2 separate regions of the Homo sapiens genome follow, and region 2 is linked to region 1. Evidence: promoter capture Hi-C in 16 types of primary human blood cells and fetal thymus (Javierre and others, 2016). All regions are on one chromosome and are shown on one strand. The core of a region is centred on a gene start or on the middle of the fragment in contact, and the rest is flanking DNA. Distances in the headings are between cores, read along the strand shown. Region 1 holds the start of FLII (FLII actin remodeling protein). Region 2 has its middle 4.2 kb from the start of PRPSAP2.

Region 1 (6,876 bases), core at 2,285-4,784:
CTTGAAGATGTCATCGGGGACTCCGGAATTCTTCAGACTGTTGGCTCGGGCCACGATGGCCTGGGAATAAACCATAAGAGTCTATAATTCCTGGCTTCCACTCTCAGGAAGGAACAGAGTCTAGAGAGGGACACCTCCTCAGGCAGCTCACCAGAGGCCAGGCCTGAGGACTCTCTCACCTCTGGCCTTTGATCAAATAGCTCCCTCTCCTGGAGCGCTCTTCCTAGCCTCCCAGTGAGCTCCTATTCATGCCTCAAAGCCCAGCTCAAATGTGCCCCGGAGCCCCAGCACAGGGCCCTCAGGGAACCTTTTCTGTTCAAACCATTTCTCTTCTTCTTAATTCCAGAAGGTGAGATAGGGGTAAGGTCTGAGTCAGGGTTTTCAGAACAGAGGGAGAGAAGTGGACCACAGAGAAATCAGAATCTGGATGGAGAGGAAGTCTGCTTTCTCTCCCTAACTTAAGACTGACACCTCCTCATACCTTACAGACATGCAGAAAGCTTGAGCATGAGGGAACAGGGCCAGAGAATGGTGTCGTGACTCCAAGTGACAACGGGAGTCACCGGAGCTGCCCCGCCACTTCTCCAGTCTGAATGCCTGTGCGGCACCCTGCTGCTGCTTCACGGGGTCACTGCTGCCCCTCCCAACCACTGCACTTGCAGAGGAGGCCCAGAAGGTAGAAGCGATTTGTACAAAGTCACATCACCAGGAAGTGGCAAAGCCCAGCTTTGAACTCAGAGAGTCCAAGTCAGAAGCTGTGCCCTAAACATCTCCAGGGCTCTGACTTCAGATGGGATGGCCCTCGTTGAGGCCTACAGGGTCTGGCCAAGGGCCTGATGTTCTGGGACGTTCAAGTCTTGGGTAGAAGGTACACGGTGCTCCCGGCCAAACCCCACTCAACACCAGCTCTACCACTGCCTGGCTCTGTGACCTGGGGCAAGTAATCTGCCTTGGTGGCCAAGTTTCTCTTCTGCAACATTAGTGGAGGGCTAGAGCATATGAAAAAATCCTAACAGAATAGTGGGAACATTGCTCAGCCAGTCTTGGCTATTATTACTGTAGTTATTGTCCATAACGGCTGGTAAGATTTTGGATTTCTTTACCTTTTTCCTGATGGAATTCTCTGATCCACATGGGTTACTTTACACAGGGCACTGCTGTAACCTCTAATGAGAGGGCCCCTCTGTGACACCTGAGCCTCTGAGCCTGACACGGAGGTGGGCAGAAATGCTGGCCCAGCTTGGTGTCTAGCCCAGGCTTCACGTCCCTGACCGGACCTTGGCCCCAACCCCAAGCTCGGTGGCCTCCCGGCCAGCACTCACGCGCAGCGATGGCAGGCTGGACAGCTCCCCATGAAGCGTGGTCAGGTTGTTGTGGCTCACAGACAAGTGTTCCTGGGCCGGAATGGGGAGCACAGGCTCAGCAGGGTGGGTGGGGTGTCCAGAGTCCCTGCCTGCCTCCACAACTCTGCACCATCCAGGAAGGCCTCAGCCACACTGGCCCAACTACCCCTGCAGCTTCCCTCCCTCACTCACCCGGCCTCTTCTTGCACACCTCCCTGGACAGGGTGCCCACTCCCTTTCTTCCAGCTCTGCTCATAGCTGTCGGTGTTCCTCTCTCTGGAGAAGTTGTCTGCCTTCTCCACAGGCTCTGCCCACCTGGCTCATCCACAGGGACCCTCCCCTGCCCGCCCAAACCCCCTTACCAGCTTCTGCAGGGCGGCCAGCTCCTCGGGCAGGTAGCAGAGGCCAGTGCGGTTCAGCTTCAGCCACCGCAGGCTGGTCATGGCCTTGACATTCTCAGGGAAGTAGCCGCCCTGGGGGAAGGATGTCAAGGTGAAGCACAGAGCCCCTGCTCACCACCTTCTATGGCTCCTCCAGCCCATGGGAGCCTTTGGGGAGCCACAGAACCAACTCTCACCATCTGTGAGAACACAGACAAGTCATTTCATCATTGTGCCTCAATTTCTTCACCCATAGAATGGGAATTTTAAGCCCCCCCGTGACAAAAGTGTTGGCCTAAGATTTGTCTCTCCTACTGGATTCTGGGCCCCAGGAGGGCCAGGACAAAACTGGCTTGTTTCAGGTGAAAGCCCAGCATCCGGCTCTGTGGTTAGCTCGGCTCAAATTCCTTCACCTAGCATTCCACACTCTGACTGGCTGCCTGGGGTGGGGGATCCCCCTTCCAAGCCTTTGCAAAGGCGCCACCTGTGCCCTCATCCTGCCATCAGCACACTGGCAACTCACGGCCAGGGTCAAACCCTTGCTTGCGGAGACCGTGGCTCCCCACCCTGCAGGGCAGGCCAGCATCACTGCACTCCCCTGGTGTGTGAACGCCCACCTCGGCACCTCCAGCCCTTGTGGCACCAAGTCTGGGGCAGTAGGTGCCTTCAGTGCCTGCGGCTGATATTCCTTTCCCCCTAGCGCCACATTCCCAGCTGGTGACTCGGACTCTCCCAGTTCAGCAAAGAGGAACGGGGACCCCAGGTTAGGGTGGTGGGGATGGGGTCAGGGAAAAGTGGTGTAGCCACTTGTACTTGGGGTCAAAGGTGTGTACACAGGCAGGTAAACGCAGGAAAAACCTGCCTCCTCGGCCCCAGCCCCAGACCAACAACCCAGGCCGACCCTGCCAGTCACCCACCCTGAAGGTGAGGCTGACCCTCCAGCCAGCTCTCCCTCCCTCTCTTTCTCTGCTTCCCCTTTGGTCAGGCAATGCCTGTCTCATTCTTGAGTCCTGGAACCACCCCGCCGCCCCACCCACTGGCTGCGGAGGGCTGGGCTCCGGTCCCTTTTCTCTCAGTCCAGCAGCTGCTCAGACAACTGCCACCCAGCACCTGGCACACCGGCCTGACACACTCTCCACACCAACAAATCTCACTATACTCCTTGCGTCCAAGGAGGAGACTTTTAAGCCCCTTCACCGGCTGAGAAAGCCTAGGCTCTGAGAGGGGAAGTGATCTGAGAGGCCCAGGATCACACAGTATGGCGGGTGGCGGTGGCGGGGAGAGGGCAGTGATGAGTCGGCTCCACACCCGCCCCTGGGCAGCCGGGCAGCCATCCCTGAGTCAGGGCCTGGCTTGGGCGTGTGACCTCAGAGGGGCGGGGAGGCTCGCCCGATCCCCAGGCCACCATCCAGCCTAGACCGAGAACACGGACGCGGGGTGGGGGCTCCCGGCCGGGCCCCCGGCGGGACTCCGAGCCCAAGCGTCCGTCCCCGGCCTGCCCAGCCTCGGTCTCCCCGTACAGGCACTGGGCGGAGGCCTCGGAGGTCCATTCCTGGCCAGGGGAGAGCCCCACCCCGCCCCGGCCGCAGTCCCTGGGACACGCAGGGCCTGGAGCCGAGCGGGACAGGAAGCGGAGGCCAAGCGGGCCGGGCGGAAGAGAAGGCCTGCAGGGAGGCCCGGCACGCGCCCGGCCCGGCTCACCTTGAAGTCGTTGCCGCTGAGGTCCACGCCACGCACGAACGGCAGCACCCCGGTGGCCTCCATGGCGCCGCTCTCGCTGCCGGGCCGCGCCGGGCTAGGGAGCGCCGGGGCGAGGGCGCTGGGGGGAGCCGCGGGCTGGGCCAGCGCCGGCCCCGCCCCTTTAACCCGCCCGCGCCCGCCGCATTCCGCGGGGAAGTGTAGGCTTTAGGCCTCTTAGGGCCTCAGTTTCCCCGTCTGTTCGAAGACTGCGGAGGCACCAAGGAGTGCGGGCCCCCCCTGTGCTGGAGTTGGAGGCTTCCACGATCTCCAGGCTTAAGTCCCAGCGCCCCAGGGCAGGGGCCGTAACGGCCGCTGGTCGAGGCACCGTCACCTGCGCTGCTGCAGCACATGAAGCTGGCCCTGACCTCAGAGAGATTCTAAACCTCGGCCCCGGGGCGCAGAGGCCCAGGAAGTGCCTGTACTTGGCTGACCGGTGGTAGTGAGACACCTGGATCCTCGGGTCCTAGCTCTCCTGCTTCTGGACTTAGTTTCCTCATGTGTTGTTTTTGTTTTGTTGAGACAGGGTCTTCTTGCTCTGCTGCCCAGGCTGGAGTGCAGTGGTGTGATCATAGCTCACTGCAGCCTCGAACTCCTGGGCTCAGCCTCCCGACTACCTGGGATTATAGGCGCAGGCCACCACACCTGGCTAAATTTATTTATTTTATTTATTTTTTATTTTTTTTGAGACAGAGTCTCGCTCTGTCGCCCAGGCTGGAGTGCAGTGGCGCAGTCTCGGCTCACTGCAACCTCCGCCTCCCGGGTTCACGCCATTCTCCTGCCTCAGCCTCCCGGGTAGCTGGGACTACAGGCACCCGCCACTACGCCCGGCTAATTTTTTTTTTTTTTTTTTTTGTATTTTTAGTAGAGACGGGGTTTCACCGTGTTAGCCAGGATGGTCTCGATCTTCTGACCTCGTGATCCAACCGCCTCGGCCTCCCAAAGTGCTGGGATTACAGGCGTGAGCCACCGCGCCCGGCCTTATTTATACTTTTTGTAGACACGGGGTGCTTGCTATGTTGCCCAGGCTGGTCTTGATCTCCTGGCCTCAAGTGATCCTCTGGTATCAGCTTCTCAGAGTGTTGGGATGACAGGCGTGAGCCACCGCGCCCTACCCAGTTTCCTCATTTGTAAAATACTTTCTAAGGTTGTCACCATGAGCAAATTAACAAAGAATGCACGTGTAGCTCGCAGCATACAGCAGGCGCTCAGTGAGTGGCAGGTTATTATTCCGTTTTGTTTTGTTTTGTGCGCCAGGTTATTATTCCCACTTAGTGTCAGCACCCCTGTGCTCGTACCCCCCTACAAAGGGAGGCTCCAGAAGAGAAGCATCCGTCTTGGTCCTTGCTGTTCAAGGGGGCTCGCCCTGGCTGACACATAGCAGGACCCCAATAAATGAGCCACAGCTGTTATATGCCCAACCATCCTTCGCAGGGGAGGAGGGGGTCTAGTGTCCCCATTTTACAGGAGAAAAACTGATGCCCAGGTGGAGAATGGCCCACACAAGCTCGCACAGAGCAGGTGGCAGGGGTAGGCGCTGTGCCCCTCAGGCCCACAGGTAAGAATGAGGCCACCAAGACACTCTCTCGCAGAGGTGACCTAAGAGGTTGGATGTGCCGGGCCTCTAGCCATGTGCAGCCTCTCTACCTGGTCCCCAGAAGGAACGGGGCCCAGACAGCTTCCTCCACACCGGAGGCTCACATTACAACGCACAGACGTCCTGGAGGGTCGCCTGTCACGTCACCTGTTCGCGGTCTCGGAATGCAGCCCTGCACCTTTAAATCCAGACTGCGTCAGGGAGTCCCGCCCCAGAGGGAGTGCGGCTGTCGGCTGGGGGGCGGGACCTGCCCTTCATTGGCTGAACCGCGCAGTATTTTGGCACCTGTGCGCTGGACTCGAGCGCTCCGATTGGAGTTAGGGCCTGCTTGTCTGCGTGCTGCGAAGTCCGCGGCTGCCCCCGGGGCCCTAGTCGTTGGGTTCCAGGGTCCTTCACGTTCCATTCCCAGGCTGGTCTGAGCTCCGGGGCCGTGGTCCCGCTGCCTCCTCCGGTCGTCGTGCGGAAGCTGCGACGCAGGTACAGCTGGAGCGCGGCGGGGCGGCCCCCAGGGTCACCGGGCTCGGGGCTTGGCGCGCGACGGAACGCAGATCGGGGGCGTGGCCCGCGATCACCGCTGGGGAAGGCGGGGAGGGGACCTTTGGGGGACCAAGGGCAGCGTTCGAATCCTAGCCCAGCCCCCTTCCCCTCTCGGTCTCTTGGTTTATCCTGCGAACGGGGCGTCACCCGCCCACCTAGGGCTGCTGCGCGGCCTGCTCCGCCCGGGCCCAGGGCAGGCAGGTTTGGCGGAGGAGGGAAGGCCAAACGGCCTCCAGGGCCCCGCTGCGCAAACTTGGGTTATTTTCAGCCACCCGTGCCCTTTCCTGCTTCTCGGAGCTGGAAGGCTGTGGACTGAGGCCTGCGCGACCCCGCCAGAGATGGGGCTGAGTCCCAATTTAGACAGGTTGGGAGTATTTAAAGCGCTTTACAGTTTGCAAAGTAGATTCCTGGTCTCTCTGGGGGCGGGTGGCAGTATTGATCCCCGAGTCACCGATGAGGAGATTGAAACCGGCCCTGGGGCCGTGGCGGGTCACCCGGTTGGCCTGGGATCGCCCCAGAGACCGTCTTATTTTTAGTCTGGGGCGAATGGGCGGGTGTACGGGGCTGAGTCACACAGCGCTTCAGGCTTCAGCTACTCCAGGCATCTGGTCACCTGGCAACTGGGCCCCTGGCACCCACACTCTGGCAGGGCAGGTAGAAGTCCTTGGTGCCCGGGCAGGCTGTGACCTCATGGTCATCTGCTCAGGCCTCCCCGGGAGAGTTCTGCTTGGTGTCTAACTGATGTCCTAAGGTCCCAGCCCTTCTCAGCTCCCAGGGCCTGAGGGCAGTGTCCCCCTCGCAGAACGTGAGGAATGTGGACTGGGCCCTAGGAGATCTTTGCCTCCACTTCCCAAGTGCTGGCCCCCACCCAGCCACACACTTCAAGGCTGCCCACATCTGCCCCTCACTGCTGCCTATGCCATCTTACAGGTGAGCAAACAGGCTGGGGCCCAGGCCTTCACCTTACTTTCTGTGTTGCTTGGCCTTCCGGCAGTTGAGAAGCATCACCCACCACTACCTACACATTGTCCCAAGACTGAGAGGCCCAGAGAGCCCCCTGTACAGAGGCACTGGGCAGCCCTTTCTGCCCTGCCAAAGGGGCTTCAACCCTGACAAGCACATCTGCATTGGCCTGCCTGGGCAGCTTGGGCCGTCTTACTCTGCCCGTGCTCTGACTTGGTAGCTCTGCCTCTTGGGCTACCCTGTCAAGATTTGGGGGTAACTGGTCCCAGTGGTCCCCCAGACTGGCTGGGGCCCCAAATTGTTGGTCTTCTCTGGACTT
Region 2 (6,876 bases), core at 2,857-5,356, 600 kb after region 1:
ACTGGACATTGCAAAGGACGCTGGTGGGGTAGGGCCTCTTTCTTACTGAGTTCACAGAATGAAGTGCCATAGGGGCCTCCAAGTGCTGGTGGCCCTGTTGGCATTACTGGGCAGAGCTTGCCTGAGAATAAAATCACCAAAGAAAGACAAAACCCTGGAGATAGTGGAGCACTGGATCTAGCCATACGAAGCTGTCCCCTGGGCTTTTTAGCTGTGGAAGTCAGCCTCACCCCTCCTCAGTTAGCCCCTTTCCCTTTACATTTAGCTGGTTCAAGCTGAGTTTTATTGCAAAAGTCCTGACTAATACAAATACTTATGATAGAATGTGAATGGGGAAAGCCTTCCATTTACTAAGATTTCAAGCAAATGCAAGATTTGAATGCTTCAGAAGGAGGTACACCAGCCTTACCCCCTGGAGGCCCCAGGAAGCAAAGCCACCAAGGCAGGCCTCAGCACCACCAGGCCCCAGTCCTTAGGCCTCCCTAGGAGGTGCTTCCAGTGAAGGGGGAAGGAAAAACTGCTTGCAGGACAGTGGCATAGGGGCTCTCCAGCTGGGGCAGGGCAGTGTAGGTAGGGGAGGAGATCAGTGGGCCCGAAGTTTGGCTTAGGGTGCTCCTCCCTCCAGCTTAAGGGAGGGATTTAGAGAGGCTGAGCCAGAGATACAAGGTTTGGAGAGTGTTTGTTATGATTCGGGCTAGAGGCCTTGGCGATGCCTGTCTTTGGCAGGGAGAGACCCGATAAAGTTGAGTTGGGGGGTAATTTACCGGGGGATCATCAGTCCCTGATTCTGCACTTTCCAATTATGGAAATGAAAAAAAAGTCCTGGTGGGTGGGGTGCTGCTGTGAGCCAGCACAGTGTCACCAGTAGTGCCCAGGAGAAAGCTGTTGAGAGTAGGGTGTGGGCAAAGGGCTCAAAGCCCAGATCTTGGCTAGGTGCTGCCACCAGGAGGAGGAGGCTGCCACGGGGGCCTGTGTGTGGGCCGTGCCAACCTTGCTGTGGCTTTGGTTTATTGACATTACCATAAATATGTTATTCTACTCCATCCACCTCAATAGTGACATGAAGTAGGTGGCATTAGCCCATTTACAGATGAGGAAACTAACAGAGAGAAATGACTTCTAAGGTTGTACAGCTAAAATGGTAATGCTAATGCTAATATATATATATATTTTTAGACGGAGTCTCGCTCTGTTGCCCAGGCTGGAGTGGCAGGATCTCAGCTTAGCTCACTGCAGCCTCTGCCTCCCTGGTTCCAGTGATTCTCCTGCCTCGGCCTCCTGGGTAGCTGAGATTATAGGCATGCACCACCACGCCCGCCTAATTTTTGTATTTTTAGTAGAAACAGGGTTTCACCATGTTGGCCAGGGTGGTCTTGAACTCCTGACCTCAGGTGATCTGCCTGCCTCAGCCTCCCAAAATGCTAGGATTATAGGCGTAAGCCACTGTGCCGGGTCTACAAAACTCCTTCTGTTTTTTTTTTTTTCTTTTTCAGACCAAGTTTCACTCTTGTTGCCCAGGCTGGAGTGCAATGGCGTGATCTTGGCTCACCACAACCTCCGCCTCCCGGGTTCAAGCAATTCTCCTGCCTCAGCCTCCTGAGTAGCTGGGATTACAGGCATGTGCCACCACGACCGGCTAATTCTGTATTTTTAGTAGAGACGAGGTTTCTCCATGTTGGTCAGGCTGGTCTCGAACTCCTGACCTGAGGTGATCCACCCTCCTCGGCCTCCCAAACTGCTGGGATTACAGGCATGAGCCACCGTGCCCGGCCCAAAACTCCTTATATATCCAGAGAGCATATATATTATAAATATTTAACCTACCTAGTATAGCTTATTGGATACTAAAGCAGGACTTTGTTAAACTCTTAGCATGCAGTGGATCATCTACTATGGTCACTGTATGAGGTGGGTGCTTTGCCATTCCCAGCTGTAGCCCCAACCCTCAGCACTGGGCCTGGCATGAGTTAAGTACTTTATTGATATTTGTTGAGTAAATGAATGGAGGTAAAAGTCAGCTAGCAAGGCAGCCAGGGTAGCTACAGGCAGCCTGATTTGGACAAGTAATTTTATTTTATTTTTAATTTATTTATTTATTTTGAATCTCTGAAAGAGTTTCACTTTTGTCGCCCAGGCTGGAGTGCAATGGTGTGATCTTGGCTCACTGCAACCTCTGCCTCTTGGGTTCAAGCGATTCTCCTGCCTCAGCCTCCTCAGTAGCTGGGATTACAGGTGCCTGCCACAACGCCTGGCTAATTTTCTTGTATTTTTAGTAGAGATGGGGTTTCCCCATGTCAGCCAGGCTGGTCTTGAACTCCTGACCCCAGGTGATCTGCCTGCCTCGGCCTCCCAAAGTGCTGGGATTACAGGTGTGAGCCACCACACCTGGCCCGTGGACAAGTAATTTTAAAAGCCCAGAAAACATTGACTATTCACTTGGACAAGCTAAAAATAATGGATGGTGCCTGGTGTTGGTGAAGATGAAGAGACATGGATGCTCTTCCACCTTCCTGGTGAGACTGTAAATTGGTACAAAATTTCAGGGAACAAAATTTTAAAAGGGCATATCCTTTGACCAAACAAGCTTACCTCTAGAAATTTAACGTGAGGAAATACTTGGGCAAAGGTAGAAAGACAGGTTATGTATTAATAGTAAAAAGTGCCCAGAATGAGGGATTAGTTAAGAGAAAATAATGGTTCATCCATATCACAATAGCTCATAATCGCTGCGGTTAATAGAAAGTGGTAGTCAACTGTGTGCCAGATAACTCAAGTGGTCATCAAGATTCCCCTATGACATAGATGCTGTTATTATTCCTATTTTGTAGATGAGGAAACAGGTATAGAGAGGTTAAGAAACTTGTTGAGGTCACACAGCTGGTGAGGAGAGAAGGAATTTGGATCTAGGCGCTGGTTCCCAAGACTACAGTCTTTCATTCACAGCTCATATCATGATGATGTCGACCTGAATTCATCAACATGGAATCATGCCTGCAATAAATTGTTACAGGGAAAAGGCATATTGGAAAATTCCAAGAGTGGCTACCTCTCCACATGGGATAATGGCAAATATCTTTTTAATTTTTTCTTCTTTCTCATTTGAATTTTTCTTACAATGTGTAAATATTATTATGCTTACAAAAGACAATGAAGTTCTTAGTCCCAGCTGCTGGGGAGCTGAGGCAGGAGAACCGCTTGAACCCAGGAGGCAGAGGTTGCAGTGATCCAAGATCGCGCCACGGCACTCAAGCCTGGATGACAGAGTGAGACTCAGCCTCGGGAAAAAAAAAAAAGACAATGAAGTTCCTTTCATTTTGGGGGAAAATAGAAAAAGGAGAAAAGAGGACGGGCACAGTGGCTCATGCCTGTATTCCCAGCACTCTGGGAGGCCGAGATGGGTGGATCACTTGAGGTCAGGAGTTCGAGACCAGCCTGGCCAACATGGCAAAACTCCATCTCTAGTAAAATTACAAAAATTAGCCGGGTGTGGTGGCATGCACCTGTAGTCCTAGCTACTTGGGAGGCTGAGGCAGGAGAATAGCTTGAACCCGGGAGGGTGGAGGTTGCAGTGAGTCAAGATTGCGCCACTGTACTCCAGTCTGGACAACAGAGCAAGGCTCCATCTCAAAAAAAGAAAAAAGAAAAGAAAAAGGAAAAAAGCTGGAGGATGCAGGAAAGGACTCTATAGGAACTTCCAAGGCCTCCTTGGCTGGTGACCTGGCTTTGGCCTCCGCTGCCTCCTACAGCCAGGCAAGCTGCCATCCTCTTCCACTGGGGAAAAAGGGGTGCCTTGTTTTTCTTCCCTGATAGCCAGACAGGCGAGAGCAGAGAGGCAGCTGCAAAAGCTTCCTCGGTGCCTCATACTCATGGACTCCATCTAAAAGTAACTCCTCACCCCCAACCATCATATGGCTGCTAATATTAGTGCTCATTTTTCCACTGAGGAAACAGAAACTTAGAGAGGTGGATCTGTCCAGGGTCATTTCCACAATGAGGACAGGAGGCAGGAAGCAGGCTCCATCCTAGTGATGGACACCTAAGTCCCTGTTTTTTCATTTGCACAACCATTTGAAGGAGAATCCTGTGTTTTTTGTTACACCATACTGCTCAAAAATTTCTATCAAACTATAGCAAAGATTCCTTTCCTTCCTTTAAAAAATGTTGAAGGGAAATGTCTTAGACTTGAGTATCTTGATTTATAGTCGATATACAGCAGTTTAGCCCTTGAATATGGCCAATGACGTGTTGCAGCAAGCTGAGCACTTCTATTACATGCAAAGACTCTGACTGCAAACATCCAAGTGGGCAAGGGATTATCAAGTTTAGCAATGGACTAACCAAAAACTGCATTCGTGTGGAACTGACCACAAGCTTTACATTATGCTTTTGCTCCTTTCTTGCTCATTACCCATTGTATAACAAAATATGCCCAGACTTGGGCTTTAATAAAAAATTTCTTAGCTCTCAATTTTTTGTGGTTTGATTGGTCTTAGCTAGGTGGCTCTTGCTTAGGGTCTTTCATAAAGTTGCAGTCAGGTGGTGGCTGGGGCTGCAGTCACCTGGTGGGTCAGCTTGGCTGAACACCTACCATGGCACACTCCTATGGCCTAAACCCCAAGGATAAAGAGAATGAGAGTTTTGACATCAGCCTACAAGGGATTTCAATAGTCCTTGGAGAATGGATGGCGGATGGAAGAGTGGTATTGCTATAACAGAACAAATGAAACTACAAACTAAGTGCCTGCAGTGCGGGAAACTATTGAGGAGCAAGCCACCCCACTGCAGAACCCTGGACGCGGTGATACACTGGAGCTAGCTCATTCTGGTTAATGAGAGTGGATTTTTTAAAAAATTCAAGGCCAGGTGTGGTGGCTCATGACTGCAATCCCAGCGTTTTGGAGGTCGAGGCGGGAGGATCACTTGAGCCCAGTTCGAGGCGGCAGTGAGCTATGATTGCACCACTGCACTCCAGCCTGGGCAACAGAGCAAGACTCTGTCTCTTAGAAAAGTTTTTTTTTTTCCAGTAATATTATTCTTGTATGGTGCAAACACTATATAATGCTGCGCTACTGCCCATTTTCTTTCCAGAAAGGATAAGGCACTCAATTTTCCAGACATTTCTTGAGTACCATACTTGTGCCAGGCCCTGGGAAACAGTGATCAGCAGGAGGGACGAAGAGCCCACCCTCATGGGGCTTACAGTGTACAGGGGCTGAGGTGGTGATATTTGTCAAATAACCACCCAAACACTTAATTAGAAATCGTGATAAGCCCAATGAAAGAAAAATACATGAAACAGTTTTATTTGGGAAGGGAGTGGTTTAGGGAAGACTCGAAAGTGACAATGGAGCTATCAAGTTCAAGAAGGAGTTAGTAGGGGAGGAGGCTGCAGGAAGAAGTGCACGCCTGGAGGCAGGAACAGCATGTGTCCCGGTAGTTCAGGGTGGCGGGCCCAGGCGGGTGAGAAAGGGCAATGGAGAAGGAAGGAGAGGAGACCGTGCAGACACTGCAAGTGCCAGAAACCCGATCCACACTGGCTTCAGAGGGTGGAGGGGAGGTTCTTCTTGGCTTCCATAATAGAAATGTCCAGGGACCTACCGACTTCAGATTCAGCGCAAACTCATCTGGGCCCGGTCTGTATCCCTCCCTCTCTTTTCTCTCAGCACTTTCCTCAGGCGGTTCCCCTCCTGGCATCCCAGCAGCTGCAGCATCAGCAGGAGAGAGTAAGCCTCTCCAGTCCCGGCGCAGGGATGGAGACGGTGTTTCGTGGGCTCCGATTGGCTCAGTAGCCTATCTTTGGAGCGAATCAGCGAGCGGAGAGGGATGAACTTCTCTGACTGGCCAGATCCAGTCACATGCCAACATGTGACGCGTGGAATCTACGCCAGCCACAGCAGAGAGGTGGGGGTTGTGACCGGAGTTAGATGCCAGCGCAGAAGGGACGTGAGCCCAGCCGAGGTACCGCTGAAGAGGAATCAATTTTGGTATGCAGATAATCACTGGGCTCATGGGTCTTGCTCTTTACAAAGAGGTATGTCCCTGTAAAGTTGTCAGGCAAAGGAAATGTTTCAAACGACTCCATTTCACGAAGTCTCACCTAATTTACAATTCGTTAGTTGAGATGCTTGTATTCTTCGTTTCTAAAATAAGACGTTGAACCATAAAGACTCTAGCTAGCTCTGCAACCTCTGATGAATATTTCATGCCTCATTATTGTGAAAAATCCAAAGCAGAATTGGAGAGAAGATGTGGTATAGGGATTAGGTAAGTGAAGACTGGTGCAAAGCCTCCTGGGTCGAAATTCTGTCCACTGCTTTGTCATTGGAAAAGTTATTTAACGTCGTCGTCTCAGTTCCCACAACTATTAAAATGGAGAGGATAACAACACCTACCTTATGCTCTTGTGAGGATTAAATAAGTTACCGTTAATATATGTAAAGCACTTAAAAGAGGACCATGTGTTTGCTATTATTATGTTATACATACAATAAAGAGTAAACATTACCTAAGTTATAAAGAACTTAGGCAATGGATACCAAAAGTACTAATTCCTTTATAATAAAAGAAAAAAAGGCGACAAGGCAAATAACGATAATAACTGATAATGGCTGGGCGCGATGGCTCACGCCTGTAACCCCAGGACTTTAGGAGGCGGAGGCGGGCGGATCACTTGAGGTCAGGAGTTTGAGAACAGCCTGGCCAACATGGTGAAACCCTGTCTCTACTAAAAATACAAAAAATTAGTCGGGCGTGGTGGCGCACACCTGTAATCCCAGCTACTCGGGAGGCTGAGACAGGAGAATCGCTTGAACCCGGGAGACGAAGTTTGCAGTGAGCTGAGATCGCGCCGATGCACTCTAGCCTGGACAACAGAGC

The links. Contacts are between HindIII fragments. The CHiCAGO score rates a contact against its expected background, and 5 or more counts as called.
Region 2: a fragment that was not itself captured here is called in contact with the fragment with the promoter of FLII in region 1 in 1 of 17 cell types (fetal thymus); the score reaches 5.7 in fetal thymus.

Annotation. Positions count from the first base shown.
Region 1 is chr17:18,255,204-18,262,079 of GRCh38, forward strand. It overlaps FLII (FLII actin remodeling protein), which reads right to left and starts at 3,535. Exons shown (of 30, transcript NM_002018.4): 1 at 3,425-3,535; 2 at 1,706-1,816; 3 at 1,323-1,394; 4 at 1-60. The coding sequence starts at 3,487. It overlaps MIEF2 (mitochondrial elongation factor 2), which reads left to right and starts at 5,459. Exons shown (of 4, transcript NM_139162.4): 1 at 5,459-5,534. RefSeq lists enhancers at 1,501-2,167, 2,827-2,906, 2,906-3,407, 5,017-5,146, 5,768-6,388 and 1 more and silencers at 3,077-3,216, 3,227-3,626. The HindIII fragment of the contact is 11,245 bases long and covers 499-6,876 here.
Region 2 is chr17:18,850,446-18,857,321 of GRCh38, forward strand. It overlaps a transcript of PRPSAP2 not described here. Among named protein-coding and RNA genes, the nearest start is that of PRPSAP2, 4.2 kb to the right of the region's middle. RefSeq lists enhancers at 5,537-6,037, 5,556-5,605, 5,626-5,685. The HindIII fragment of the contact is 526 bases long and covers 3,844-4,369 here.